Regions from separate parts of the Homo sapiens genome. Here regions 2, 3, 4, 5, 6 and 7 are each linked to region 1. The links are contacts of gene promoters, found by promoter capture Hi-C in blood cells and fetal thymus (Javierre and others, 2016). All regions are on one chromosome and are shown on one strand. Each heading gives the region's core, a stretch centred on a gene start or on the middle of the fragment in contact. The rest is flanking DNA. Distances are from core to core; before and after follow the strand shown.

Region 1 (4,297 bases), core at 1,798-4,297:
TTTAGTTAGCAATTAAATATCAGGTTGTCTGTCAGATACTTAGTTGAAGAGTACACTGCTTAACATCCCAGTGTTTGGGACAGATAAGAAAGAAAAGTCTTTACCTATTAATTAGTATAGAAAAAATATTTTTCAGGAATACAATTTTGTGGAATAAAAAACATTTTGACAAAAAAGCTTAAGCATATACAATATTTAGTACTAGATGAGCATTATCTAATTGCAATCAGATACAATAATAAAACTAGTTCTTTTTTTCAGTAGATAAAAAGGAACAAGAAACTGATACTTGGAACAAATCAAATAAATCACGAAGCACAGAATTTTAAAAAGTACCATAACAGCATTAATATGCAGAATGTATGCTAAGGTTTACAGTATAAATTTCACTATTCTAATGTTAAAATAGGGAACAGGCAGATTATTTCCATACAAAATAATCTCAGAACACAATGAAATTTACCAGTAAAATACATTTAAAGCATGATTGAATATAATCCCACATACTGAAATTTAGTTACAGATTTTTAAAGTTGAAATTTAAGATAAATAATAAATCCTTTAAAGAAGTCTATTAAAATGCAACGTAAAATTAAACGATTAAAATTATAAGGGAAGAAAAAAGCACTTTATGGCAAAATCAACCCAATAAAAAACATAAAGTTAATATATCTTAAAATGTAAATTCTAGTTTAAGTTAAAAGTAATCACTAATAACTCATTAATGATTACAACTCATTAACTGTGGCAAAATAAACATCATAGGTTCTTGTTATGCGGAAATTTTATTTTTAACACAGCCTATAGAGTTGATCATCATACTATTATAAAATACTATTGATTTTCAAGAAATAATATTAAAACCTACCGTTAAGTAGCTACCATTAGGTAGTAGGGAAAACACTGCAACACTTCGTTTTTATGAAAAGCACATGTTAGGACATCTTTCCTCATGTAGTAAGTTACTTTATGAAAGTAAAGGTCCATTTTAGGAGGATTACTACTTTTACATCACAAAGGCAAGAACTAGATTAATCACGGTGAGAATCAAGTTCAGTGATAGTCACAGCCTACTCAGGGAGCACATAGAGAAGCTTTCCATACATTTTCACAAGGTAAAAGGGCTAGGGGGACACAGGAAAGATCACTCTGCAGAATGGACCTTGAGTTTCGTTTGGCTCTGCCTTCGATTAACTGTCTGGCTTGGGCAGACAAGTCAGTTAACTTTCTGAGTTTTAGTGTCTTCCTCTGTCAAGTGCACTTGGGCTCTTCCGTGTTATCTACAAAGTTAGGAAGAGCTAAAGGCAGCCCTAGTTTTACTTTTTAAAAAATAATAACAGAAAAATACATAAGTTGCTATTCATCAGTGTACTGTTTCCAGAGCTGAATTCCTAAGTCTCTGAAGCATACCCAGTTAGGGTTATACCAGTGAAGATCCAGATACTATAGTCATAATGTCACTCTCTCCTCTCCCATTATTCCTCCACCTGCTCCTCCCCATCCTGCTTTATTCTCTCTTCTGGTGTGTTTTAAGAAGCAACGCCAGCAAACGGCTGCATACATTGTAAGCTTAAGGATTAAATCATTTTAAAATATGCATTTTCAATCAAATGTATCATCTGCTTCGCCAAATTCCTCCCAAATGGCTGAATTTTCATTAAGAGAATAAAAATGAGTTAACAACTTCGGTAACAGAAATGTACTGGGCCAGTTGTTTTGTTTGTTTTACTTGCTTAAAAAATAAACGGAAAGATGTATCCATTCCCTCAGGAACATAAATGCATTACCTGCCCAATGAAAAAACAATTCTGCTTGTTCATTTCCCTGACACAACAGCTTCGTTGTCAGGCCCTCTCTAGCCCAGGCTCCAACGTCACCTAGTAATTTTATATTGATCACCTTGGCAGTGCTTGGACTCCAGCAGGCATAGTCCCTGTCTTCCTTACATTCCTCAAAATAAATAAATAAATAAATAAATAAATAAATAAAACTCTACGAAACACCACCGAACAGAGATTCTGTGACTTAGTATACAAATCCCACGTCTTCCCGCCCTGTGTTAGGCAGCTGCAAATGTTATTTTTTCATCGCTTGCATAAAATGGAAGCGAAACGTACCAAAACCCTACATCTGAATCCTAGGACAATGAAGCCGACAGGAAGCCACTCTCTCCTCCCCCGGGTTTACTACAGAGCCAGAGCCTCCACGGGGTGCAGTCGCCAGGCAGGGTGCATGACACCGCGTCTTCCACGCCCTCCCAACGCGTCCAAAAGGTTGCTCGCCTGACCTCGCCAACCGCCTCACACCCCAAAACCAATCACACAAAAGGGATTGGCCCGGGGAGCTGCTCCAATGGGGGAAAAATCCCTTCCCCAGCGGCAGCGCAGCCATTCCCTCCAATGCTCCGCCCGCACCCCTCGCAAACTGCTACGGCGGAGGGGGGAGGGCTGCACAAAGCCAGTCGAAAGCTGAAAATGATTCAATGCACTTAGGGGATGCGGAGGCGGCAGCAAGGGGCTCGGGAAAGCCGGGGGGCCGCAGGACTGGAGCTCCGGGGGGCGGCGGGTGGGGGATGGGAAGGGTGGTCCCGTCAAGCCCCGGGTCCCAGGCGGGCAGAGGGTGGGGGTGGCGGCGCCGCGCGGAGCACCCGGGAAGCGCCCCCTTCGCGGTCCAGCCCCGCACCCCCGCCCCGCGGCGGGCGGCGCCCGAGTCCTCGCCGCAAACCCGAGGAGCAGGATGTGGAAAGCAGCCGCGGCGGTGGCTGCGGCTGCGGCGCCTACACCGAGCAGCCGATCGCATCACTTACCCCTTACCGTGGAGAGAGGGACCGGACGGGGGAGGCGGGGCGCGTCGCGTCCCGTGAGTCTCTCGCACGCCGTCCTCCCCCCACCTCGTCGTCGTCGTCGTCGCCGCTGTTGTCGTCGCTGCCGCTGCGGTCGAGCTCCGGGGCCCTCAGCTCCGCTGGGCAATAACGTTATTCCACACACGCCCCACACATAGCGGTAACGGCAAAGACCGACTGCCTAGTGCGCAGGCGCCTCGGGAAAGGGCGAGGAGCCGGACCCTATCCCCTCCTGCCCAGTTCCAACGATCCCTTACTGCGCAGGCGCCACACACAGACAATGAAAAGGGGTTGTGCGAGGGTCTCACCCACACGCTTTTCCAGCTTGCCCACTGCGCAGGCGTGCCCCGAAAGACCAGCTTGAACAATGAAGAGGACCTCGGCGTTAGGTGGGACCGCAACCAACAAGGACTACAGTTCCCAGCGGGCAGAGCGCCAACTCCAAGTGAAGGTCCGGTTGCTGGGCATGCTAGGAGTTGTAGTGTCGGCCGCCTTTACAATCTAGGCTGTTTGGAAGATTTAGAGCTTCTATTTCTTGAAGATTTATTCGACCGTTTTAAAAAATCTCGCAACTGAAGCAGGGTTCAGAGTTTACTATCTGCGTCCTTGAGTAGCCTGGGGATCAACTGCTGCATATTAGCAAATTTCGAAGCGTCAAGGCCTTCAGTGAGCCCTTTCTGTCATTTGGGTGGTCCAGGCAGCTGAAGAGTGGGATGGAGGCGGGACTAAACCAGGCTGGGCTGGAGGAAAAGGGCGGGGCCTGCAAGCCTGTCTCTTGGCAGCAGGCTCTGGCAGCCAAACCGTCCAAGCTAGCGCCTGGAGCGCAGTGGTTTCTGGGAATTGTAGTGTAACTGGAAGGCCCTGAGGATTGTCGAGCTTGCAGGTTCTGAACGTGAGGACTACAACTCCCGACGTGCAAAGCGAGGGCCAGTGGGTGGGAAGAGCCCCCAAGAGCTCTGTGCGGGATTCTAGGCTCCCCTGTGACAGCCGCGGCAGGAAGCAGGCGGGCGCTCCCCGGCCACAGGCCTGTTGTTCTCGGAAGGGAGAAAGCTGGACATTTCCCCACGTAACTCCCAGCTCTGGGCCTAGAGTGCGTGCATGGCGAAGTCCCCGGAGAACTCTACCCTGGAGGAGATTCTGGGGCAGTATCAACGGAGTCTCCGGGGTGAGTTGCTCCAAACCTCTGTCCCTAGCCCCGAGGTGCCCAGGGCCTAGTGGGCGGGAGCAGACCAGGTGCGTTTCCTAACACCTGGGTTCTGCCCCGTCCACGCTACAGAGGAGCAAGATGGATGTTGCTGTGGTCTTGAGGAGGATGAAATAGTTTGATTTAGTTTTTACAGTTAAGCAACGATGTTTCCTCAGATTCCCGTAGTTACCTCAATCAACTCCTTGATCTTAACTTGGCATCTTTCTCAACCGGCGACAGCAGAAACTCTTGGATAGCTCTATGCCATT
Region 2 (3,200 bases), core at 85-2,584, 1.7 Mb after region 1:
TATATGTAGAGTATATATGTATATATACACATATATGTAGAGTATACATATACGTAGATGTATATATACTCTACATATATGTATACGTATACATATACGTATATGTATACGTATATGTATATATACATCTATCTATCTATCTATCTATATATATATATATATTTTTTAAGATGGAGTCTTGCTCTGTCACCCAGGCTGGAGTGCAATGCCATGATCTTGGCTCACTGCAACCTCTGCCTCCTGGGTTCAAGTGATTCTTCTGCCTCAGCCTCCTGAGTAGCTAGGACTACAGGCTTGCAGCACTATGCCCACCTAATGTTTGTACTTTTAGTAGAGACGGGGTTACACCATATTGGCCAGGTTGGTCTCGAACTCCTGGCCTCGTGATCTGCCCACCTCGGCCTCCCAAAGTGCTGGGTATACAGGCATGAGCCACCGTGCCCGGCCGCAAAATATATTCTGAGGAATAAAAATGATTGTAGTTAGTTTTCCACAGTCCAAAGCAAGCTAATAATATTTAAAGAGTTAAAAGTGTAATATAATCATCGGTCATGTTTCTACAACCAAAGAGAGTTGAAAGGAGTCAAATATCAGCATAATGCAGATAATGTACTCACTGGCATTGTGGGCCTTTATTATTTGGATAATCATTTTCACCTTGTGGAGACTTTTCCAGAATTATATACTTTTATGCCTAATCAGCAAATTAGGCAGTTGAAAAGTATGTATGAAGCAGCTAATATGTGCCCCAATTAGGCTAGGTAGTGTGGGTATATAAAAAGGGTTTATAAAGGGGGAGGCTCCTATTCAAACCTTAGTGGGGTCAGGAGATGCGGAAGTTAATTAACATATATTAAATATTTTTTTACTCACCCACACCTAGAGAAACAGTACTGTTTTAAATGTGCTGTAGGAGTTCAGAGAAATACTGATTAATGTGGTTTGGAATAAATTAAATAATAAAAAGCTTTGCTGAATACAGTTAGTTTAAAAAATATAAAAATATAGGGGGATTTGCAGAGAAATCTGTTCAACTCTTAAAATAATTTTTAATTTATATATGTTTATATAAGAATTCCATTTTATTAACATGAAATACTAGTACCTTTTTTTGGGGATGGAGTCTTGCTCTGTCATCTGGGCTGGAGTGCAGTGGCGGATCTCGGCTCACTGCAACCTCTGCCTCCTGGGTTCAAGCGATTCTTCTGTCTCAGCCTCCCGAGTAGCTGGGATTACAGGCGTGAGCCACCACATTCGGCTAATTTTTCTATTTTTAGTAGAGATGGGGTTTTACCATGTTGGCCAGGTGGGTCTTTAACTCATGACCTGAAGTGATCCACCCGCTTCAGCCTCCCAAAGTGCTGAGATTATGCGTGAGCCACCGCGCCTGGCCCAGTACTTTTACTGATGAAAAATGTAATGTAAAAGGAAGGTCTGTCTTACATACAATAAGTGCTGAATCTGGGTCTTTTTTAAAAAAAGTCATTGAGAAGACTTACTCCTTTCTTAAGTTTTAAGACATTTATTATTGCAAACAGAAAAATTGTACTAGATACCGGGGATATATAAACGAATAATGCCGTTTCTGTCTTCAAGATCTTACTGTTTGGTAGGTGGAAATAAAGTGAACGAACGAAGGCACTGCAAATCAATGTGGGAGGCTCTATAAGCATGGGGCCACAGAGGAAAAGGCTGAGAGGGAAAGCTTCAATGACTAGGTGACTTCAAAAAGGTCATCCTGGCCAGGCACAGTGGCTCACACCTGTAATCCCAGAACTTTGGGAGGGCCAGGCAGGCGGCAGATCGCTTGAGCTCAGGAGTTTGAGAGCAGCCTGGGCAACATGGGGAAACTCTGTCTCTACAAAAAATACAAAAACTAGCCAGACATGGTGGCGCGCGCCGCTCCTCCCAGCTACTTGGGAGGTTGCGGTGGGAGGGTCACTTGAGACCGGGAGGCGGAAGTTGCAGTGAGCAGAGATCACACCACTGCACTCCATCCTGGACGACAGAGCGAGACCCTGTCTCGAAAAACAAAAGACAAAAACAAAAACAAAGGTCATCCTGCAGGACAACCAGGAGGGCACAAATGTGTGTCTGTGGGAAGCTGAAATGTTGGCGGGGGAAAAAAGCAGGGAAAGGCATTCCAGAAAAAGGAAACTGTAAACAGCACACGAAAAAGCATAGTGAATGAATAGGAAGCCTGAGACCAAACTTAGGGTTTCCTACACTTATTTCAAAGCCCTTCATTATCTATATGGAAAGGGGGAGTCTTTAAACACAAATATTTAGATCATATTGACTGAGATTTAGATATAAATGAATGCTAATAATTACTTTTCGTTATTTTGGGGTGTTAAACATTTACTGTACAAGATTGTATTCGTTTTAAGTATCTTCTAACATGAGCCATTTTGTAATGATTCAGTTGTTTATATTCAATTTCAAGTAGAATGCTGATCACAGCGCCAAATGGGTATCTTCTACAGAAAAAGTTATTTTAATAAAGAAAAATATAGTCAGTTTTAGGATTTCCTGAGAGATTATAGAAACAATAAAAGCATTAAAACTGTTAAGTCATTAAATACGAGTACCTTGTATTTTGAAGGCTCTTAAAATTTAGTTTATAAATTGCTTTTACATAACATATGCACTGAAATACCACTTAAGATTAGTTTTGAAAATAGGTGTTCGTTTCAACCACATCATTAGGTATTTTATTCAAAGCTCTTTATAAAAAGAGCTTTACTATGTTCCAGTATAGTAAACTTATCCAGAAAATAAGACAAAAATTTAACTTCATGCTATAGCTGCAAAGTTTTCGGAAAGCGGGATTTAAAACTTCCATTGTAACTTTAACTAGCGGTCATGTCAAATTTCACAACTAAGAACATTTTAACGCATGTAATACTGAGCACAACATGGGCACGTTTTTGTTGCTATGAGAACCTTCTATTTTGTATTAGACATTGCAGCCTTGACGACGCAATGTTTGTGCTATTTTGCGCATGTTTTCCTGCAGCTATTCCTCTCCTCTAGCAATAGTCGAATGGCTCTGGTTTCCTCTTGCGCCCGGCCCAGTTTTTCCGTTTTAGCTTCGGTTGTCATAGGCTGTGCTGTCGCTTTCTCTGGGAAAGGACGGTGAAGACTGGACGGGAGAAACCGGGAGGGCAGGCGCGGCCGTTCTGCAGCAGCCGGGCCGC
Region 3 (4,297 bases), core at 1,014-3,513, 1.7 Mb before region 1:
TTTTGTACTTCTAGTTTCATGAGTCTGTCAAAAATTCTACTGAAGTCCTCAGCCTCTCTTGCATTTGTAGATGCCTGTAGGCATGGCTCCAAATGCCAGGTCATCTCTCTGCGTCTCCTTTTCCTCTCAGTAGAGGTATTAGTTCAAATGACCTATTACACCATCACCCTAAATTACTGCTTGTGGAAAATAAATTGGAAAGAGGCAAAATGAATGCTGGTAGAATACACAGAAAATTTGATATTAGTTAAGCATAATGATTCCAATAACTAGAGGCAGAAAGGTGAAAATGAAAAGAGATGGGTAGATGGAAAAACATTGTAAGGTAGAACTGGCAGAACTGGGAATGGAGTATCAAGGAGAGACGGTGACTCCTAGCTTTCTAGTTTGAGCAACTGGATGGATGGCATATCATTCACTTACATAGGGAATATGTGGAGAGAATTGATGAGATGGGAGGCGATGATCGCAAGTTTCAATTCGGATCTGTTGATTTTGAGGTGCTTTGAGACATACAAGAAGCTGTATCACTTAAACATTTGCATGCATGAGCTCAAAAAACAGATCTGGATAGGAAATATACATTTTCACATCATCATGGATGGAGAAGACAGACTTGGATGGAGATTTGAGAAACTCCAATATTTGTCCGTCTTTGCAATGGTGAAAGAGGAAAAGTGGGACTGGCCAGAGACGTATGAAGAAAACCAGAAAATGAGAGAAGGTTAATGTTTCCAGAAGGTTTAGTTAACGGTATTGACTATTGTTGAAAATTCAAGTGTGATAATTATATACAGATGACTTTACCAAATACAGGTTGCCAGTGATGAGGTAGTAAACTACCACAGCCTATATAAAGCTACTGGTAGGGCAACACTCTAAAGCTTTAAAAAGACAAGAGATCAGAAAAAATTCTTCATGATCTCAGAATAGGCAAAGATCTCTTGAACAAGACATTTGTAATTGCATTAAAAATAAAATGACTATTGTAATTGCATTAATAATAAAATAAAAGATTGGTGAATATGGTTACATTAAAATAAACAGCTTCTCATACTCAAAATAGACTATAGCATTTAAGAAGCAAGACACAGAATGGAAGATATTTTTAATGTTTAAAAATGACAAAGACTCTATATTCAGACTCTATGAACAACTAAACAAAAGAAAAAGAAAGAAAAGAAAAAAGATAGGCAACCCAATAGAAAATGGGCAAAAGATCTAAACAGACACTTGGTGAAAGAGGAGATCCAAACAGCCAATCAATATATGAAAAAGTGCTCACTGCACTCCAGCCTGGGTGACAGAGCGAGACTCTGTCTCAAAAAAAAAAAAAAAAGTGCTCAACTTCTTTAGTAATTAAGCATATGCAAAGTAAAACTACATTCCTCTCCAACTTACCAGCTCCCACCCTCCCACTCCACAATAATGAAAAGTTTGAGAACATCAAGTGCTGGCAAAGATAAATTTTCAGAAGCTGCTGGTGTTACAACCAACTCTTGAAACAGTTTGGCATCAGAAAAGTGACGGTACATAAACTTTTGACCAGATATTCCACTTCCATGTATAGAACCCTTGAAAAAAAGTTATCATATATGTACCAGAATTCCTGCACACACACACAAATGTTATTTGAAGCATTGTTAACATATTCCCAGACCAGAAACAACTCAAGTGTCCTTTGACAGTAGGGCAGATAATCTGTGATCTTTCATTTAATGAAGAATCATATAGAAACAAAAAAAAAGATGACCTTAAGTTTACATGTAACCATATAAATGAATCCCACAATGTTGCCTTAGAGAAGCAAGATGCAAAAACAAACAAAACACACACACACACACACACAGTGTGATTCTAACTATAGGGTTTTAAAAAATGGGTAAATGGCGGGGCACAGTGGCTCATGCCTATAATTCTAGCACTTTGAGAGGCCAAGGTGGGAGAATCACTTGAGCCCAGGAGTTTGAGACCAGACTGGGCAACATAGTGAGACCCCATCTCTACAAAAAAACTTAAAAAATTTTTAATGGGTAAAATTAAAGTATATTGCTTAGAAATATGTATACCTAAAGGCTAAAATGTAAAAAAGCAAGAATGGGTTATCACAGAAGTCAGAATAATGTTTACGTCTATGTGAGAGGAAGAGGACTGTAACTGGGGAGGAGGTGGGGGGAGTTTTGGAGGAATGACGCTATTCTACTTTTTGACCAAAGTAGTGGTTATAAGGGATATAAGGCTATAAAGAATTGCTTTCTAATTATTCTGTAAGATATATATGTTTTATGTTCTTTCTGTTTGAAAATTACCTCACTATAAAAAAGTAAAAAAAAAAAAAACTACTTCTAAAATCATATTACTTAATCTTGAATAAATATTGCTATTTTTGCCACTGATACTTTTCAGCAGAAATTGAGTAAATCAATGTGATAAATGAGGCTGGTAAAATATGACCACACACAATGTGAGGCTAGTAAAACATAGCCTCACATGATGTTTCATTTTGCTGCTAAAAATTCCCTATATTTGTGGAATCAGATAAATATTTAATTTTTTTTTAATTTCTAGGTTGGCTCATTACAAGCATGCTTTCTTGCAAAGAGGAATTTCCAGATTGATGTATATGAAGCTAGGGAAGGTACGTCCATGGTGAAAAAAGCAGGATGAACGCTGGGCACGGTGGCTCCTGGCACTTTGGGAGGCCAGGGCACATGGATCGCTTGAGGCCGGGAGTTTGAGACCAGCCTGGGCAACATGGCAAAACCCCATCTCTACAAAAAATACAAAAATTAGCCTGGTGTGGTGGTGTGTGGTAGGAGGATTGCTTGGACCCAGGAGGCGGAGGTTGCAGTGAGGCGAGATCATGCCACTGTGCTCCAGCCTGGGTGAAAGGGCAAGACCCAAAGAAAGAGAGAGAAAGAGAGAGAGAGAGAAAGAAAAGGAAGAAAGAAAGAAAGAAAGAAAGAAAGAAAGAAAGAAAGAAAGAAAGAAAGAAAGAAAGAAAGAAAGGAAGGAAGAAAGAAAGAAAGGAGAAAGAGCAAGAAAGAAAGAGAGAAAGAGCAAGAAAGAAAGATGAAAAGAAAGAAAGAAAGATAGAAGGAAAGAAAGATAGAAAGAAAGAAAAAGAATTGCAGGATGTGGTTCTAATTCTTTGACTTTTCTTTAGATTTTCTGAACTTAAAAAGTTTCTTTAATAAAACGCTTTTCTTAAAAAAACTAGTTTTGTTTAAAAAAAAACACCAACTATCTAAATTTAATTTAATATAAAGTTACTGCTATTAGCATTTTCTTTAGAAGAGTTAAGAAGTTCTTTAATGTGGTTCCGAATGAACCAGTTGTTCAGATGCAGTAATTTTGCTCATCCTGAGCTAGGATATAAAGTGTGCGTAACATGGAGTCTGCTTCCAATGTCTCAGATACTCGAGTGGCTACCTTCACACGTGGAAGAAGCATTAACTTAGCCCTTTCTCATAGAGGACGACAAGCCTTGAAAGCTGTTGGCCTGGAAGATCAGGTACTTAATGTATCTTTCTTACAGAAGATAATACCTGGTATTTTTCAACAATTGCATGGTTTGATTTCATCCTGGCTTAAAAAGTACCATTTAATACCAAGAATCTCTGCATGAAAACTCATTCTACTAAAGCTTTTAAAATTCGAAATTTGGCAAGAGGGTGAACATTGGACACTCGAGGCACCCGAGGAGGACCCTGCAACCGGATGATTGCTTCTGATATTGGGTTCTCAACAGGATGGTGCGTCACTGCCTGTAGAAAGTGAGAGTCAAGATGGCATCCAGGATAAAAGGAGCCAGATTCCTTTTTTTTTTCAATTGCACAGGCCCGTAATATCTTATCTACAATTCTATACTCCAAAAAGACTCTGAAAATAGAAAGCTTCTCATCACTCATTGAGTAGCAAAATCTGACTTGACATGAGACTCTTTGTAGTCTTTTAAAAATCTCATTTAGCATAAATATGTTTTGCTACAGAAATTTTGTGTTTGATTATGGGGCGGGTTTATGTGATATCCAGCATATGTGTACTACACTACTTTCTAAAATTGAAAAATTCTGAATTCTGAAACCATCAGGCCCCATGGGTTTGGATAAAGAATGGTGGGCCTGTAGTAGATTTTCATCATGTGAGCTTAATGTTGTAGAACTTTTCACTGTCTATGTTAGCTTGGTAATATAAACAGACATGATAGATGTATTTTTCTTGATACTACTTTCAGTGACAATGTGTCTTTGAGCTGACAGTACTAGCAAATATGAGTGCTATTTGCATTCCTATT
Region 4 (4,297 bases), core at 1,107-3,606, 1.6 Mb before region 1:
AGTATGACATACTTAAGTATGTCTTTGTATTTTGACATCATTTTGGCACCGAGAATAGTACAAGGGATTATTATGTATTTGCTGCTGATAAAAGTTATATACACATGACCATGTTTCTTTCCAAATAACAAGGAAAAATCCTGGAGTAAACATGGTCATCCCTGTAATTAACCAAACACTCAGGTGAAATGTTGCTTAGAAATAGCCACAGTTGACATTTCAATGAAAAATTTTTTTTTCCCTCAGGGAACTAGCAATACACAGGTCAGAAGAATGTAAAACAAGGCCAACTCCCTGCTGTTTTTTACCTAAAGGATCACTTTTTCAACTCAAAATATGATTTGACAGTCCTTACATGATAATTTTTGGCTATTAAAAAATCTATAAAATATTCATTTTTATGAGTGTTATAAAGTCAAATGACAATCCTGTTGGATTTATCATCTCTTATTCTCTAATCAAAATAATACATTATAATAACTTTATTTCATATGATATTTTATAATTTTCAAAGTACTTTTTAATGTATTTTTCTAATTAGATCTTTCCAGACATGTCAGGCAGGAAAGTCTCATCGTCCCCATTTGATGAGAGTGTGAGAAAAGGGGCTGATATCCGTGACTAGCCTAAGGTCACAAGACTAGGAAGGTTCTATTTGAATGAGAACCCAGACCTTCTGACTGCTAGTGTGGAGCTCTATTTGGATTTTCCCCAAAAAGATTACACAAAGCAAGTTGTTTCTCAGCAATGGCGAAGCTTGAGGTCTTTTTAATTCTATGAAAACATTCAACACATGAATAAATTGTGGAATAGCTCTGTGACCTGCAATGATGAGTCTAGTTTCTAAGTGTTCCTTCCTAGATTATTAACCTGACAGCAAATGAAAAAAATCCGATATCCCAGAAGAGCAAATGAAAAATATGAGGGAATCTCAGAGGCACTGAATTAAATCTTCATTCCATCATTTATAATTTACAAAGCTCTCAAGGGAGCTCAGGGTTTAGGTTTTAGAGCGGGTGATAACAACACTGATTCCATTTAAGTCATTTTCTATTACCCTGCTGCTGATGCAAATGGAGAGCACGGAAACACAGAGGGCGAGTGCGACTCTTCTCTCAAGAATGAATATCACACGCTCCACTGTAATTGTGTGTGAGTAATTAATCAACCAGAAAATGTGATGTGATACCTCAGGACCATATGAGAAGAATGAGAGAAGAAGCTTGTCATATATAACGTGCTAAGGAAAAACATAATTGCTATATAGCCTGTGCAGTTCTATGTTTGGGCAAAATGCTTTAAGTTGTAAACAAACTTGTGAGGTGGAGGCGTTGGAGTATAAAGCAAAACCCATATTGGTGACCAGTGTGGAACAATCTGGACAGGCAAGAAAAATCTCATTTCCTTGGAAGTCTTAGTCATCCTGATCTGAGAATGTCAAGTAATGAAGAACTAAAAAAAATAAATAAATAAAAATAAAAAAAAGAAGGTGGGAGAAGGAAACTTTAGAAATATGAGATATTTTCCCCAAGACCACAAAGTAGGTGTTAGAACAAGGCTAGTTCCCAGACCCATTCACATTCTACTATTTCAAGCTTCTCTTCCACACTGTCAAATTGGGGTTAACATGAATTTAACTCATCTCTTTGATGTTCAATTTAACACCTTCTGGATCAGAGCAGCATGTCTCTTTCCTTTAATAAGAATGCTGTTTCCAAATGCCAGCTTTTGAAATAGCTACATACGAAACTCCTGAGGAGATGGTTTAAAATGCTGATTCCTAGGCTCTGCCCTTGAAAATACTTGATCCAGTAGGCTTAGGACAGAACGTGAATATCTGTAAGTTTCAAAGTTACCACTGATGATCCTGACTTTCAGAACGATGGGTCAAGATTAAAATCAGATTTCCTTTAATATAATCTCTATCACTATTTGCTCAATTCCCAGGTTTTCCTCAATTCCCATCACTGGTGCAGGAGCACAAGAAACCACTCCAGATGCCTCTGAAGCCTTCAGTCTCAATCCCACACCAAGAGGTGCAGCGCAGAGGGGTGGCCCTCTCTCCTGTCTCTGATGGATTCCGCAGCCAGCCCATTTCTGGTCCGTGCTGACCTCCATCGTTTTCAGCAGAGCAACACCGCCATCGTTCTGTGTCTCTTTGTGCAGGCAGCAGCACAGAATTGGGAATATATTTAAGGACCTTAATGTTCTATGGAATGGTTCTGTTCAATGAGAAGACTTTCATGTATATGCCAGGTTTAAGGCTTTCTTCTTTTCTCATTGTATCTTTTTTTTTTTTTTGGCACACCCACTTTTGTATTTATTTATTTTTGCTTATTTCATCTTATCTAAGAATTCTTCTACATCTTTAAGAAATAGAGAATAAAGAGATATGCCTCAAGCCTCCAGTGGGCAGGCTAGTTTATATATATATATATATATTTCAGATATAATTAAGGATCACTCCAGGCAAGGAGACAGTACATACTTACAATTCAGTGCTATGGTGCCTTTTATGTGTGAAACCCTTCATTCTTCACGGATCTTTCTACATCAACACTCCTTCATCCTTTGGAACTTGAGAACTTTCAGGAAAACCTTCTGGTTGTTTCATACTGGGCTCTAAAACTTGCTTGCCTTTGTCCCCATCTGCTGCTCAGTGGCTGCATATTAGGAATTTGGAAATTGCCCCAACATAAGAACTGAACCATTCATTTGCGTTAACATTTCACAAAACAGTACTGCACGGGACACTAAAGGTAATACTATGCACAAGGCTCCCTAGTTGAGAGAGTCAGTACCGATGTCCGGGTGCCAGGCTGAGCCAGCCCTGAGGAAAGGGCATCTTTTCTAGCTTATACAGGCAGTTCTGATTTCTGTACTTTACTCATTTCTAGCTTTTATCCCTCTTTACCTATCTCCTTGTCTTTTGCAATTCTGCTGCTTCTTATAGTCCAATAAACTATAATAATGCCATATTTTATAGAACCTGACACAGCATATCATAAAATGGCTGAAAGTGATGTCATATGAAAAGCTCTTGAAAATCTAACTAAATGCCCTTGAGGTTCACCCTGGCCTCACCAGTTCCCTAGACTCCAGACCCATCACGAAGTGAGAAGCTTGTTGGGGAGACATGGGCAGTTTCATCATGAAACAGACTGATGTTACTTCTTAGGGAATTCTCTCACATTATGGAAAGCAGAAGCCTGGCTGTACAAGAAACTTGTGGCATATTCTAAGTAAATCAGATAAAAGTGTTCCAGGACAAATCACAGCCTAACAGCAGACAGTCACCAGGCCGGTGTGTCTAAATCTTCTTTAAATGTTTGAGTTGCTCTAACGTATAGGGCCCTGAGTTTAGTTCTGGAGAAGCAAAGTCATAAAATATGGTCCTTGATGTAAAGGGGAAAACGCAATATGAAAGAACAAAGTAAAATACAAAATTGCGTATTTGAAATGCCAAATGAGACATACAGATGTTAAGTGCCAGAGGAGCCCAGACAGAGGAAAGTTCACCAAGTACTGGGGAATACAGGGTGGGGCAGGGTTGGGGGTGGGGGTGTTAAATAAAGGGGAGGGACTGAGGGAAGTTGAAAATAATCAATCTGAAAATTTGCCCAGCATGTACATGCCTAGCAATTTCAGGTTTAATTATAAACCCTAGAGCAGCATTGTTCAGTAGAAATATAATGTGAGCCACAAACATTTAAATTTTTAAAAGGTAAAAAGAAACAGATGCAATTAACTTTAATAACATATTTTATTTTACCCAACTGGTATGGACTGGATGTTTGTGGCCCCCCAAATGCATGTGCTGAAACCCTAACCCTCAGAGTGATGGTATGAGGTGACATCTTTGGAAGGTGATTAGGCCATGAAGGCAGAGCCCTGGTGAATGGAATTAGTGCTGTTGTAAGAGGCCACAGAGCTAACTCTGGTTCTCTTTCTGCCATGTGAGGATAACACAAGTAAGCACACTAACCTGGAAGAGGGCCCTCACCAGAACCCAACCTGCTGGTACCCTGATCTCAGACTTCCAACCTCTGGAACTGTGAAATATAAATTTCTGTGTTTACAAGCCACCCACTTTAGGGTATTTTGTTATAGCAGCTTGAACTAACACATTAATATATGCAAAATATTATTTCAATTTTTAATCAATATAAAATTATTGAGATATTTTATATTTTTCTCATACGAAGTCTTGGAAATATAATTAATATTTTACACTTACATCTCAGTATAAACTAGCTACATTTCAAGAGCTCAAGAGACACATGTGACTAGTAGTTAT
Region 5 (4,297 bases), core at 840-3,339, 1.6 Mb before region 1:
GACCTTGGCCATTTCAATAAAAGGACTTTGGCTTTTACTCAATCAGAGTAAAGTCCAGGGCAATGCCTACTAGCAGTGAATGCAAAGGAGGAGTAAGAGGCCTTTGACAAATGCTTAAGCATTTTTGACACAGTAATTTTACAATACTATGAACCATTAAGGACATTTATTGAGCTTGACAGAAACAGGCAATGATAAGGATATATGTTTCTTTTTTAATTTTAGAATTATGTAATGACAGGATAATGGCAGAACACTACAATCTTTTATTAAAAAAAAAAACAAAAAACAAACAAATGAAAAACACCAGCATGATATAGTTTGGATGTTTGTCCCCACCCAAATCTCATGTTGAAATATAATCCCCAATATTAGAGGTGGGTCCTAGTGGTAGGTGTTTTGGTCATAGGGGGCGGATCCCTCATGAATGGCCTGGGCCATCCCCTTTGTGATAAGTGAGCTCTGGTCATCTAAAAGTGTGTGGCAACTCCGCCATCCCACTCTCTCTCTCTCTCTCTCCCTATCTGGTTGTCGCCATGTGAGATGCCTGCTCTCACTTTGCCTTCCACCATGAGTAAAAGCTCCCTGAGGCCTCCCCAGAAGCTGAGTAGATGCCAACACCATGCTTCCTGTACAGCCTGCAGAACTGTGAGCCAATTAAATCGCTTTTCTTTATAAATTACCCAGTCTCAGGTATTTACAGCAGTGCAAGAACAGCCTAATACACAGCATAAGGACAAACATGTAGACCAATGGAATAGAATAGAGAGCCAAGATATAAACTCTTACATATATGGTCCATTGATTTTTGACAAGGATGCCAAGGCCATTCAATGGGGAAAGGAGGAAAGGACAGTCTTTTCAACAAATGATGCTGGGAAAACTGCATATCCATGTGCAAATGAATGAAGTTGGAGCCTTACATTATATCATATATAAAAATTAACTCAAAATTGATTGGAGACCTATATGTAAAAGCTAAAACTATAAAACTTTTAGAAGAAAACTTCTTGGGTATGACACCAAAAGCACAGGCAACAGGAGAAAAATAGCTAAATTGGACTTTATCAAAATTAAAAACTGTTATGCATCAAAGGGCACTATCAAAAGAGTGAAAAGACAGCACAGCAAATGGGAGAAATACTTGCAAGTCATATATCTGATAAGGCATCAATATTATAAAGACCCCCTACAACTCAACAACAAAAAACTCCACACAACCCAATTCAGAAATAGGCAAAGGATCTGAGTAGACATTACTCCAAAAATATACTAATGGCCTAAAAGCACATGGAAGGAAACTTACTGTGATTAGTCATTAGGGAAATGCAAATCAAAGCCACAATGACATACCACTTCACACCTACTAGAAGGGCTATCATCAAAAAACAAAACAAAACACAAAAACAAGTGTTGGTTTTTGTGTGGAGATGTGTAGAAATTAGAACCCTGTCGTACTGCTGATGGGAATGTGAAATGGTGTGGCTCCTGTGGAAGACAATTTGGTAGTTCCACAAAAAGTTAAACATAGAATTATTGTGAGCTCATTCCTGTAATCCCAGTGCTTTGGGAAGCTTAAGCAGGATGATCACTTGAGGCCAAGAGTACAATGACCAGCCTGGGCAACATAGTAAGACCCCATCTCTTCAGAAAAAAATAAAAAATTAGCTGGGTGTGGTGGCACATACCTGTAGTCTCACCCAACTATTCAGGAGGCTGAGGCAGAAGGATCCCTTGAGCCCAGGAGTTTGAGGTTGCAGTGAGCTGTGATCGTGTCACTGCGCTCCACCCTGGGCAAGAGAGTGAGACCCTGTCTCAAAACAAAAAAAATTGCCATATGATCTAGCAATCCTATTCCTAGGTATATACACAAAAGAATTGAAAGCAGGGACTCAAACAGGTATTTGTATACTTATGTTCATAATAGGATTATTCAAAATAGCCAAAAAATAGAAACAACTCAAATGCCCATCAACAGATGAATGATACATGGAATGTGATATATACATACAATGGAATATTATACAGCCATATTTTAAAAGAAATGAAATTCTAGTACATGCTACAACATGGATGAACCTTGAAAACATTACGATAAGGGAAATAAGCCAAACACAAAAGGACAAATATTATATGATCCCAATGATATGAGGTACCTATAACAGGCAAATTCACAGAGACAGAAAGTAGAATGGTGGTTACCAGAAGCTGAGAAGAGGGAAGAATAAGAAGTTAGTGTTTAATGGGTAGAGAGTTTCTGTTTAAGATGACGAAAAAATTCTGGAGACGAATAGTAGTAATGGTTGCACAAGATTGTAAATGTACACAATGCCACTGAATGGTATACTTAAAAATGGTTAGAAAGGAAAATTTTATGTTATGTATATTTTACCACTTTTTTTTTTAAAAAAAGAAAAAAGCATGTGCAAATTGTGCCTGCATTTCACTCTCTCAGAGTGGGAGAAATAAACTACTATAACCAGTTGAGGAAGCAAGCTGAACTCAGTATGCTGCAACCAAAAAGCAGCTTGTTCTCCCTACTCATTTCAAATGTTTTCTGACCATTTGCTCCTTCCTGCCCTTAGATGGAATTTTGGCAGCTTCCAAAGCTTTTCTGCTCCCTTGCAGTTGACATCAAGGCCAGCACATTGTAATGCTGAAAAGCTAAAACTCACGGAAAACTCGCTTGTCCACACCCTCCAAGATACAGCCAGCCTCAGGCCTGGAGAACTTCTGTGAGGGTGGAGGTGAGAAGGAAAACAACTTTAGCTTCCCCCATTTTCTTGATCCGCTCGCTACCTGTAGATGCTGCTCTGGGCCCCTTTGAGATTGTGAGGGAAAAAAAATCTTCCTTGATTGGTTAAGTTGTAGTCTGATATTGGTGCTCTCTGCCAGGCACGGTGGCTCACGCCTGTAATCCCAGCACTTTGGGAGGCCGAGATGGGCAGATCACTTGAGGTCAGGAGTTCGAGACCAGCCTGGCCAACATGGTGAAATCCTATCTCTACTAAAAATATGAAAATTAGCCAGGTGAGGTGGCATGCACCTGTAATCCCAGCTACTCAGGAGGCTGAGTCAGAAGAATCACTTGAACCCAGGAGACAGCAATCCAGCCTGGGCAACAGATTGCAACTTTGTCTTTTAAAAATAATTGATATTAGTGCTCTCTGGTTGTAGCAAGTTTTAAATGTTGGGTTTTTCTCTTCTAGGATGATTTTCAGGTTCTCTAGAGAAATTGAGATCTCTGGCATCTTTCTCACACAACTCTCTCGACAGAGGCAATGCCTTTAGTAGCTGTCTGCTGGGATCTCACTCTCTGACCCTGCTTGGGGACCCTCCCAAGCTGACCCAGTCTGGCCCCTCTACTGAGAGTCTAGCGTCTGTTCCTCTGTACATATGTATGCATCTTTTGCCCTGCCAAATTCTGGAAGTGGTCTGCTGCAGAGAGCTGGCCAGCCCCAGACTCTCCCTGTCAGTGCCCCTGGGATGGAAAGAAATGGGGAGATGTCATGGCTCCTCCATGCTGAACACTCTCTCTGTGGAAGTGCTCATTAAGGATATCCTTGAGCTCCTAATGAACTCGTTGCCTTCTCTTAAATAGTTTGAAGGTGAGCAGGAGCTAATGCTTGCGGAACTGGTTCCCAGTGACTGCACACATCCTCCCGCGTGGGCCGTCTAGCCTGTCCTTTAGACAGAAAGAGGTTCATTTAAAACCCTCTAAACACCCTCTTACATTGGAACATTAAATTATCACAATACCTATATTCCAAGGAAGTCCTTTGCAAAGTATAGGGGAGCGAGGAATGGAGACACGTTTCATTTGACATTCTTGTTTGGAAACTGATAACCCCTAGCCTTCTGCATCATAAGGGGACAACAGAGAGGGAACTTCCATCAAGCATTCCTTTTCCCAGGGTTGAGACACATTCTTCCCTGGCCCCTCTAACCTTGGTCTCTGGTGAGCAGCAGAAGAGCCCTTACTGAAAATCTTGTGAAACATGTATGCACTTTTCCTACCTTAGGAAATGCAATTTAGTGGATGTGCTTGAACTTTTTTTTAAAAAAAGGAGAATCTAGCATGCCTTAAGTTTCTGAATGTCAATGCTCCTGGTGCATACAGCTCCTCAGATGGGTGAGATGTAGGGATCAGCTTAATACATAAACTGTGTATCTGTCCACATCCACTCAACCCCCAAATACATACATTTGTTTTTAAAATAAAATCTCACTTGTTACATTGCTGTTAAAAAATGGAGTTTATGGCTGGGCACAGTGACTCATACCTGTAATCCCAGCA
Region 6 (4,297 bases), core at 1,245-3,744, 1.6 Mb after region 1:
TAAGAAGGATAAAGAAGAGTTTGAAAAGAGAGACATCAAACTGTTAGTTATATTTACCTTAAAAAGGAGAGAAAGAACTGAGATTTTTACTTTCCTTTCTATAACTGTTAAACAATTAAAAATGGAAATATTATATGCAATTTTGTGAAAATAAAAATTTTAAAATAGGCCAGGCGCAGTGGCTCACGCCTGTAATCCCAGCACTCTGGAAACCAGAGGCAGGCGTATCACCTGAGGTCAGGAGTTTGAGGCCAGCCTGGCCAACATAGTGAAACCCTTTCTCTACTAAAAATACAAAAATTAGCCGGGTGTGGTGGCAGGCGCCTGTAATCCCAGCTGCTACTCAGGAAGCTGAGGCAGGAGAATCACTTGAACCCGGGAGGCAGAGGTTGCAGTGAGCTGAGATTGCGCCACTGCACTCCAGCCTGAGCGACAAAGTGAGACTCTGTCTCAAAAAAAATAAAAAATAAAAAATAAATCATCCTTATGAAAATACTTTTCAAAGACAAATGAAATAGACCCCAACAATGTCTACTCTAGCAAATTTTCAAAGTCATAATAAAAATAAAATAGGATGACTCGGTGGTGTTTTAGCTGGTACTTTTCCAGTTTTCCTTTTACAACATAATCAACAATGACTTCAAAAGGATTTCCCCCTCCTTCATGGAATATTACTACCTTCAACACGGCCTTTCAGATCCGGAGTTCAAAGCATAGTTAGCATTATAATTTCAGCAGAGAATCCAGAATTGGCAGGATATCACCAGTAGGGTGACTTTTTTTCTTTTCCCTAGCAAACAGTAGAGCAGTATGTAGTTTCTCCCCCCGCCCAGACGGAGTTTCGCTCTTTCTCCCAGGCTGGAGTACAGTGGCACGATCTCGGCTCCCTGCAACCTCCGCCTTCCGTTTTCAAGCTATTCTCCTTCCTCAGGCTGCCGAGTAGCTGGGATTACAGGCGCCCCCCACCACGCCAGGCTAATTTTTGTATTTTTAGTAGAGGCGAGGTTTCACCAAGTTGACCAGGCTGGTCCCGAACTCCTGACCTCGTGATCCGCCCGCCTCAGCCCCCAAAGTGTTGGGATTACAGGCGTGAGCCTCCGCGCCCGGCACAGTATGTAGTTTCTAACTACAATTTCAAAAACAAAAACAAAAAAACCCCCCCCGCCCCCGCAAAAAAAAACCTCAAAAAAAAAAATGTGACACATAAATACACAACCTTAACTGTGTATTTTACTGGGATTGTAGAAAGGTATCAAATGGGCATGCAAGTAAGGTCCTTACGGAGTAAGAAAACGCCCAATGAACAGTACTTAATATGAATTCGACATCGTTAACACTGAGCGCTTGCTGTGTGCCAGCGCGCAGCATAATTCGAAGCAGCATGACTTTGCACAATGACATATTCTACAAGTCCAGTTTCCTAAGGAGTGCCCTTAGGTTACATATAACCTAAACGTGAAATGTAGAAGTACATAAAGGAGGCATAAAGTTAAAGGGGAAAAATTATAAATACTAGAAAAAATTGCATTGTATTATTTTGATGGCTGAAAAATGGGCTCGACCCTGCATGCACGCGTTCTCCATTGAGCTCGACAATATGCAGTATTTTGTTTCACGTTATGTCGCAGTCTTAGGGAGGAGTGAAACGTGGAACACGACTTCACATCAAAAATGCACGTTGCAGAGGCATTTTTCCTTCGGGGACGCCGGAAGACTTCGCCACACGCGCGCCCTCTCCGCGGACACCAACGTGCTGACGCATGTTCATTAGCGAGCTGCTCCCTCCATTTTGTCCCCAGTCTCCTTTAGGCGAACTGCGCGGTTCTATGTTAAAGCCACTTAGTAATGAAACTATAAAAGGGAGGAAGTGGGGTGGGCGTGGGAGCCCCGTTTGCGCAAGGCAGGCGCGGGGGACTAAATGGCTGCTGGTGCAGAGTGGGGCTGCCCCGGCACCAAGGGCTCGTCCCGTGGCCGGAAGGACAAAGGACACTTAGGGGACGAGGGCCGCCGAGCCAGCGCGGAGCGCCTTCCGGGTCGGTGGGCTGGGGCGGGCTGGGGGCTGGGGCCGGGCCGACCCCCGCGGTGGGGCCCACCCCGCAGGACAAAGCAGCGGCCCCGCCCCTCGGCGCGCGCCCGAGGCTCGTGCGTGTGAGCACGCGCGCCGGAGACGGTTAGAAATGGCGGTTGGGGCGGAGCAGGGGGCTGGCGCGGGAAGCGGGGCTGTCTGGCTCGGTTACGCCCCCACCTCGCCAGGAATCTAGGAGTCGGTTTGTTTTCCGAACCCATCTCCTTCCGCTCTCCCGCCCCTGCAGGCTGTGTGCCGAGCTTGGAAGAAAGTGTGACCCGTTCGACGGAACAAAGGACATGACAGCCCGGCCCCGTGCGGCCACTGCGGAGCGTTAGGAACATTCCCTAAAATGGCGGCCGGCGCGTCGGAACAGGGCGGGAGGCGGCGGCGCGTGGGGGCGGGACGGGGAGGGGCGCGGCCAGCCGGGCTTCTGCTTCCGCGACCCCGGCGGTGCAGGGCGGGTGGAGTCGCGGAGTAGTCCTCATGGCCGCCCCGCCGGAGCCCGGTGAGCCCGAGGAGAGGAAGGTAACCTGGGGGTCGGCGGGGCGCGCGCCGCGGGTGGGCGGTGGGTAAGGACGTTCTCCGCGGAGCTCCTAGGCCCGGAGCACGTGTCACTGGCTTCTCTGCCACCCATGGGCTTGAAACTATTTTAACTGTTCCTAGTCCTTATCCCAAGCCTCCAACATTTTAATCTAAGTGGCCGGGACAAAATTGACCAAAACTAGGGGGAGGAGGGGACCAGTAGTACTAATGACTTACTACAGGTCATTATGAAATAAGCTAACAATACTGAATCTTTGGCGAGAAAATTTTGCTGCTAAGGGCACTGCACTGTAATTTGTTAGTAAAGGCTAATAGTAGAGATTAAAGCTCCGTTGAGGACAGGTGCCTTGTCTTTAACACGTTGTATTCATCACATTTAACATAGGAGTAATTGCTGAGGGATGACTTGATTGTACTACGATGAGATGAAGGGTTAAGATTTCTTCCCCATCACCAGTAGCCTCCCTAGCTGGTGTCCCTGTCTCCATACTCTCCTGAATCCACCTTCCACTATTGTCCGCTGGCCCTTTCCAGCCTGTAAACTGGACAGTTTTCATTCCTCTGCCTAACATCCAGTCGTAGCAGCCCATCCTATCTCTTTAAGGATAAAACCCAAATTCTTGGTATAGTAAAGCTAAACCAAGCGCTCTCCCTGGAAGGGCTCCTGTGTTTCACCAAAGCTGACTTACGTACTTTCCCCATCTTCCCAGGCATCTTGTACGTCGTTACATTTATCATATTGGAAGGTAATAAATGATCTTGTTTTCCTCTTTTCCTGGGCTCCTTATTAAGAGCAGGGAACCTAATTTATATCCTCAGGGCAGAACAGGTATTCAGAAAAGAATAATGCAAGAGGAAAAAAGTTTAATATAAACTAGGGAGATCGTAACATTGGCTAATCACGAGCAAATATTTATAGAAGACCCACTGTGTGCTAAATGGCTCCTAATATATACTTAAGATATTCTCCCAGCTTGGAAATTCTGCTCACTTCTTGCTCTTGCTTGCTTCTCTGGTGGGCTTCCATCCAAATTTGGCCATGACATCAGATCATATGGTTAATATTAACAAATATTGTATAAATTGTTTTCATACTTAATATCCAACAGGTTGTCAGTTTACGTACTACTGGTGCCTTATCTGTTTTTACTGTCCCATACACTGCCCATCTGGAATAAGCTTAGTGTTTAAAAAAAAAAAAAGATCTTTGCATACACACAGTAAATCCTAGATTCAGTTTTGTGATAAACACTGGAATCCTGAATGGGACTTTTGGTAGGAGATAACTGCTGTTTTTAAAGGTCATAAAGGTGGTTTAATCCATTGGAAATTAAAAAAAAAAAACTTAAAAGAGGATCAACATTGACCTATTTAACTGGCCCATCAGTAAGTAGCAAAACAATACTGTAGTTGTTGAAATGAAGATAGTTATAAGCCTCAAACCGAGCACAGTCAGAGGTGGGAGGCCAAAAAAACAAAAATTGCTCATGAAACAGTAGTACCTATCAGAGCCCATCAAAAAGCTAATTAAATTAATAGAAGCTATGATGAATTAACAGCCCAAGGTGCTGTCAGAAAGGAAGCCTGCGGTTATTTTTTTTAAAAGAATTTGTCAGTGATCATTCCAGCACAACCCAGGGAGGATTATTTTATTATAAGAATTAGCAAACCTAAAGTAAAAATGGG
Region 7 (4,297 bases), core at 921-3,420, 1.4 Mb before region 1:
ATAACTCTATAGTAGTGGTTCTCAAACTGTTTGGTCGCAGGATCCCTTTACACTCCTCAAGCTCCTTTATGGTAATATTTTTTGTTTATGTAGGCGATAGCTATTGATATTTACTGAATTAAAAATTAAAACAAAAATTTAAATGTTTATCAATTCACTTAAACTTTATAATAAACTCATTACATGTTAGCATAAATAGCATGCTTTTATGAAAAATAATCATTTTTTAAAACAAAAATTATGAGAGAGAGGAATCATACATTTATGCAAATCTCTTTAATGTGGCCTAATAGAAGACAGCTGTGTTCGTATACAAGTTGAACATCCCTAATCCAAAAATCTGAAATGTTCAAAAATCCAAAACTTTTTGAGTCCCGGCAGGCAAGTGAAAAATTCCACACCTGATCTCATGTGAAGAGTACACAAAATAATTAAAAATACTGTATAAAATTACCTTCAGTCTATGTGTGTAAGGCTTATATGAAACATAAATTGAGTTTTTTTTCTTCTTCACCCTCTTGCTGTCAGTGTGTGGAAACGTAAATGGATTTTATGTTTAGACTTGGGCCCCATCCCTAAGTTATCTCATAACGTGTATATGCAAATATTCCAAAATCTGAAAAAATTCAAAATCTGAAACACTTCTGGTGCCAAGCATTTTGGATAATGTGTACCCAACCTGTATCTGCTGCCTTATTAAGCCTCATTTGATACCATGTATCATATATCATCTGGAAAATTCTGAGACTCTGGACATTGCTACTTTGTAGTTTGTCTTAAAAAATAAACATCAAAGAAGCTCATTTTCCCCCTTGGATATTCTCTAAACCCTTAACAGTTTGCAGAGCAGAAATTTCATTTTTCTATTTCCAGGAGTATAAGGCCTGAGTCCTCAGGACTAAGAGTGATGTCATGTAATGGAAAGATCTCTAGGTTGGAAGATAGTGTCCCAGGTGGGAATAGGACCACGTGCCTTAACTAGCCTGTGACTCCAGGATCCGTTTGGTTCTCTGGGCCTTCCCTTTTTCATCTATGAATTTACTATGCAATGTTTAGGATCCTTTCCAGCTTTAAGCATCCATGACTCTCACAGAAATCAGAATGTCAACTTGGTTTAAAAATATGATCTAGAAATATTTGCATTTTTTTAATTCTCAGATTTTGGATGTTCTTTTTTTTTCCTTTCTTGATAAAAAGGACTTTGAAGATGAATGGATAATGTATCTCAAAGTTACACCTAGAAGCACAAACTTGATGTACTATATAACTGTATTTTTTTATCCTTCAAATTAGTAATAGAAAAACCAAAGAAAATACTAGTTATGAGACTTAGAATTTTAAGTGATGTAACATGGTTGTGTTAGCTGGTAGAATTTTTTAATGTAGATGAAAGCAGTTAATGTTTCAATCCCTCTTTATGAATGTAAATCAATCAGCCTTGAGGATAATATGTTCCCTGTTCTTTAGTTGCAGATAAAATATTTTTGCATGCATTGTTAGGTTATCAAGAAAATTGGACATTATCTCAAGATGAATATCACGGTACCAGAGGATTACATCAACGGGTTTATTCGGGCCAACAATACCTTCCTCTATCAGCTAGTTTTTGATCCCATCAAAAGGAAACTTATTCCTCTGAACGCCTATGAAGATGATGTTGATCCTGAAACACTAAGCTACGCTGGGCAGTATCCTTTCTGAAACAGAATGGTAGAATTTGTGCATTTTTCTTCAATATTTTTATGGTGATTTTTTTGTGAGGCATTTAGTAAAAAGCTTGCACATTATTTTTTGCTCTCTTTTTTATAGTGAAATCTGTATATTGTTCATTTAAATTACCATGCTAGTGAAAATTGAGAACAACTTTTTGTTTATAAACCCGAGGCTCATCCACTATGCATCCTGATTACTTAGATTGACTGACAGTAGCATGCACAGGGTCCGTCACTTACGGTACACATTCCAAAGGTGGCTCTTGAGAGGACCTCCTCGTGGCAAGCAAGCTCGACTTATCAGGAAGAGCATTCTGGGCATTTGAGTGCATCAGGAGAGGATGCCCTTCCCATAGCCACTGGCCATGTACATGCAGGCTGATGCAGAGCCCTGAGTCACTTAGGTGGTGGCTAGGACTTTCCCCTCTGTTTCCCTTAAAGGCAGGGAGTCAGTGATGGCCTGGGCCCTCGTCAGAAGACACCAACTCCTGCAGAGACAGATAGAGACTAGCAAACTGTGTCTGCTTTCAGTAATGCTGATGTATAAAGTAAGGAGACTCCATTTAAGTCATAAACCTATGGATTTTCGTGACAATAGAAAACATTTTTCCATCTTAGTATAATATCATTTGGTTGGTTGTTAATAAATACATTTTTCCTTAATCTTGCTAATCTAGATATGTTGATGATTCCATAGCTCTTCAAATAGCACTTGGAAATAAAGATATAAATACTTTTGAACAGATCGATGACTACAATCCAGACACTGCTATGGTAACGTTTTGATGACCACCCTATGAAAACACGTTTTAGTTATGTCCCGAGCTGTGATTAAAGGCAAATCTTCATACACTAAGCTTCTTTTAAGCGTTTCTATATCCAGGCTCTGTGCAGAATGTACATTAAAAACAACTTGATCCTAGAGAAATTACATGTATTAGAGCATAGGTATATTGGTTAATTTTTTAAAATTAAGAAGTGACTGTTATTTATTATCAAACCCTTATCCTTGAGCATTTCATTTGAATATACCAAGCATTTGATGCCTTTTTTTCTCATCTCACTCCGTTCGGCTTCTGTGGCATTTGGCATCATTGAAGACCCAAGCCTAGGAATGCTACGGGAGTTAAAGCTGTTTTTTCACTCATGCACAATTTAACAAATATTTAATGCACGCCCCTGCTGTTTCTTTAAACAATTTGCTGTTTTCTTTTATTTTTCTTTTTTGAGACAGAGTTTCATTCTTGTTGCCCAGGCTGGAGTGCAATGGTGCGATCTCAGCTCACCACAACCTCCGCCTCCCAGGTTCGAGCAATTCTCCTGCCTCAGCCTCCTGGGTAGCTAGGATTACAGGCATGCACCACCACGCCCGGCTAATTTTGTATTTTTAGTAGAGACAGGATTTCTGCATGTTGGCCAGGCTGGTCTGGAACTCCCAACCTCGGGTGATCTGCCCACCTCGGCCTCCCAAAGCGCTGGGATTACAGGCGTGAGCCACCACTCCTAGCCGCGATTTGCTGTTTTCTTCTGCTTCTTCAGTATTGTATGTATTCCTTAAGATACTGTCTCCCATCATTGTCTTTCTCTTTGTATTTCTGTTTATCCTCTGTTCTCTTTTCTGTTTACATTTCTTCCTTAGGTAAGTCCTTAGGGCTTTAATCCCATTTACGTAAAGAACTCACATCTCCATCTTTACTCCAGTCTCTCGCCTGTGCACCAACCACAGAATTCTCACTGTCTCTTGCGTCTCTGATTTCCTGTAGCCTCCAAGTCTATTTATAGGCAAAACTAAACTCTTCATGTTTTTAATCAACTTTTAATCACATTTCTCTTTTATTTCCTACTTAGCACTTATTACTGTATAACATGCTTCTATTCTTTTCTGATTCTTTCCAATAGAATGTGGTCTTCATAAAGGCAGAACTTGGTGATCCTCACTGCTGTATGATATTTACTATGTTTATATGTTGAGTGAATGAGTGTTAGCCACAGGTCTCTTTTGTTCTCACACTGGAAAACTTGGAAATAAACTTTGGCTTCCATTTCGTTGCTACATCCTCTTGCCTCTTTGAGTTGTCCTTCTGGTTAACATTTTCTTCTTTTCCCAAGCTTCCAGTTTAATTCTTGCTCACTAATTTATTCCTTTACTAAACATTTATCAAGCACTGAAACAATGTAATTAGGTTAGCTAGGGTTCTGGAATATAAAGAAAAATAAGAAATACAGGAAAAGTAAGATCCTTGCCTGTCAAATGCCCATTGCCTAAATAGGAAGGAGAAGGGATTCTATAGAAAGAAATGCGGTAAGTGCTACGCTAAAGAGGTATTCCAGGCTCTGTGGAAATAAAAAGCATGTCCCTCACTCCACCTAAGAGAATGCTTCCTAATAATAATGGCAAACATTTTCTGAGCATTTGCTACTTTCCAGGTGCTCTTTTAAGCACCTTAGACATAGTAAGTCATTTACTCTTCAGAAAGCCTCTGAAGTCAGCACCATTCTCATTTTACAGATGAGGAAACAATTAGAGGACACTTAAGTAACTTTTCCAGCTGACCATTTTCGTAAATAGGGGAGCTGTGATTCCA

What was found. The method cuts DNA at HindIII sites, captures the fragments that hold promoters and counts their contacts. A CHiCAGO score of 5 or more calls a contact.
Region 2: a contact is called between a fragment that was not itself captured here and the fragment with the promoter of CEP170 in region 1, in 1 of 17 cell types (non-activated CD4 T cells). The highest score is 5.8, in non-activated CD4 T cells.
Region 3: a fragment that was not itself captured here is called in contact with the fragment with the promoter of CEP170 in region 1 in 1 of 17 cell types (M1 macrophages); the score reaches 6.5 in M1 macrophages.
Region 4: a contact is called between a fragment that was not itself captured here and the fragment with the promoter of CEP170 in region 1, in 1 of 17 cell types (M2 macrophages). The highest score is 10.3, in M2 macrophages.
Region 5: a fragment that was not itself captured here is called in contact with the fragment with the promoter of CEP170 in region 1 in 1 of 17 cell types (naive CD8 T cells); the score reaches 5.5 in naive CD8 T cells.
Region 6: the fragment with the promoter of COX20 here is called in contact with the fragment with the promoter of CEP170 in region 1 in 1 of 17 cell types (neutrophils); the score reaches 5.7 in neutrophils.
Region 7: a fragment that was not itself captured here is called in contact with the fragment with the promoter of CEP170 in region 1 in 1 of 17 cell types (total CD4 T cells); the score reaches 5.1 in total CD4 T cells.

What each region holds. Positions count from the first base shown.
Region 1 is chr1:243,252,234-243,256,530 of GRCh38, forward strand. It overlaps CEP170 (centrosomal protein 170), which reads right to left and starts at 3,048. Exons shown (of 20, transcript NM_014812.3): 1 at 2,807-3,048. It overlaps SDCCAG8 (SHH signaling and ciliogenesis regulator SDCCAG8), which reads left to right and starts at 3,808. Exons shown (of 18, transcript NM_006642.5): 1 at 3,808-4,007. The coding sequence starts at 3,941. The HindIII fragment of the contact is 10,208 bases long and covers 1,568-4,297 here.
Region 2 is chr1:244,966,661-244,969,860 of GRCh38, forward strand. LOC124900416 reads right to left here. Exons shown (of 4, transcript XM_054328428.1): 3 at 313-3,200. It overlaps EFCAB2-AS1 (EFCAB2 antisense RNA 1), which reads right to left. Exons shown (of 2, transcript NR_111907.1): 2 at 1-3,200. It overlaps DRC8 (dynein regulatory complex subunit 8), which reads left to right and starts at 3,022. Exons shown (of 8, transcript NM_032328.4): 1 at 3,022-3,200. RefSeq lists an enhancer at 1,372-1,876 and a silencer at 3,085-3,200. The HindIII fragment of the contact is 738 bases long and covers 966-1,703 here.
Region 3 is chr1:241,546,261-241,550,557 of GRCh38, forward strand. It overlaps KMO (kynurenine 3-monooxygenase), which reads left to right. Exons shown (of 15, transcript NM_003679.5): 2 at 2,569-2,638; 3 at 3,417-3,514. Among named protein-coding and RNA genes, the nearest start is that of KMO, 16 kb to the left of the region's middle. The HindIII fragment of the contact is 2,762 bases long and covers 883-3,644 here.
Region 4 is chr1:241,616,550-241,620,846 of GRCh38, forward strand. The region is part of intron 1 of OPN3 (opsin 3); the gene reads right to left. Among named protein-coding and RNA genes, the nearest start is that of CHML, 22 kb to the right of the region's middle. The HindIII fragment of the contact is 1,527 bases long and covers 1,594-3,120 here.
Region 5 is chr1:241,642,774-241,647,070 of GRCh38, forward strand. No RefSeq gene overlaps it. Among named protein-coding and RNA genes, the nearest start is that of OPN3, 4.6 kb to the left of the region's middle. The HindIII fragment of the contact is 1,035 bases long and covers 1,573-2,607 here.
Region 6 is chr1:244,833,164-244,837,460 of GRCh38, forward strand. COX20 (cytochrome c oxidase assembly factor COX20) reads left to right here and starts at 2,495. Exons shown (of 4, transcript NM_198076.6): 1 at 2,495-2,593. The coding sequence starts at 2,552. RefSeq lists enhancers at 406-1,165, 1,669-1,728, 2,269-2,388 and silencers at 1,889-2,228, 2,469-2,518, 2,559-2,848. The HindIII fragment of the contact is 7,018 bases long and covers 1-3,788 here.
Region 7 is chr1:241,859,017-241,863,313 of GRCh38, forward strand. It overlaps EXO1 (exonuclease 1), which reads left to right. Exons shown (of 16, transcript NM_130398.4): 9 at 1,501-1,688; 10 at 2,390-2,486. Among named protein-coding and RNA genes, the nearest start is that of EXO1, 13 kb to the left of the region's middle. The HindIII fragment of the contact is 793 bases long and covers 1,775-2,567 here.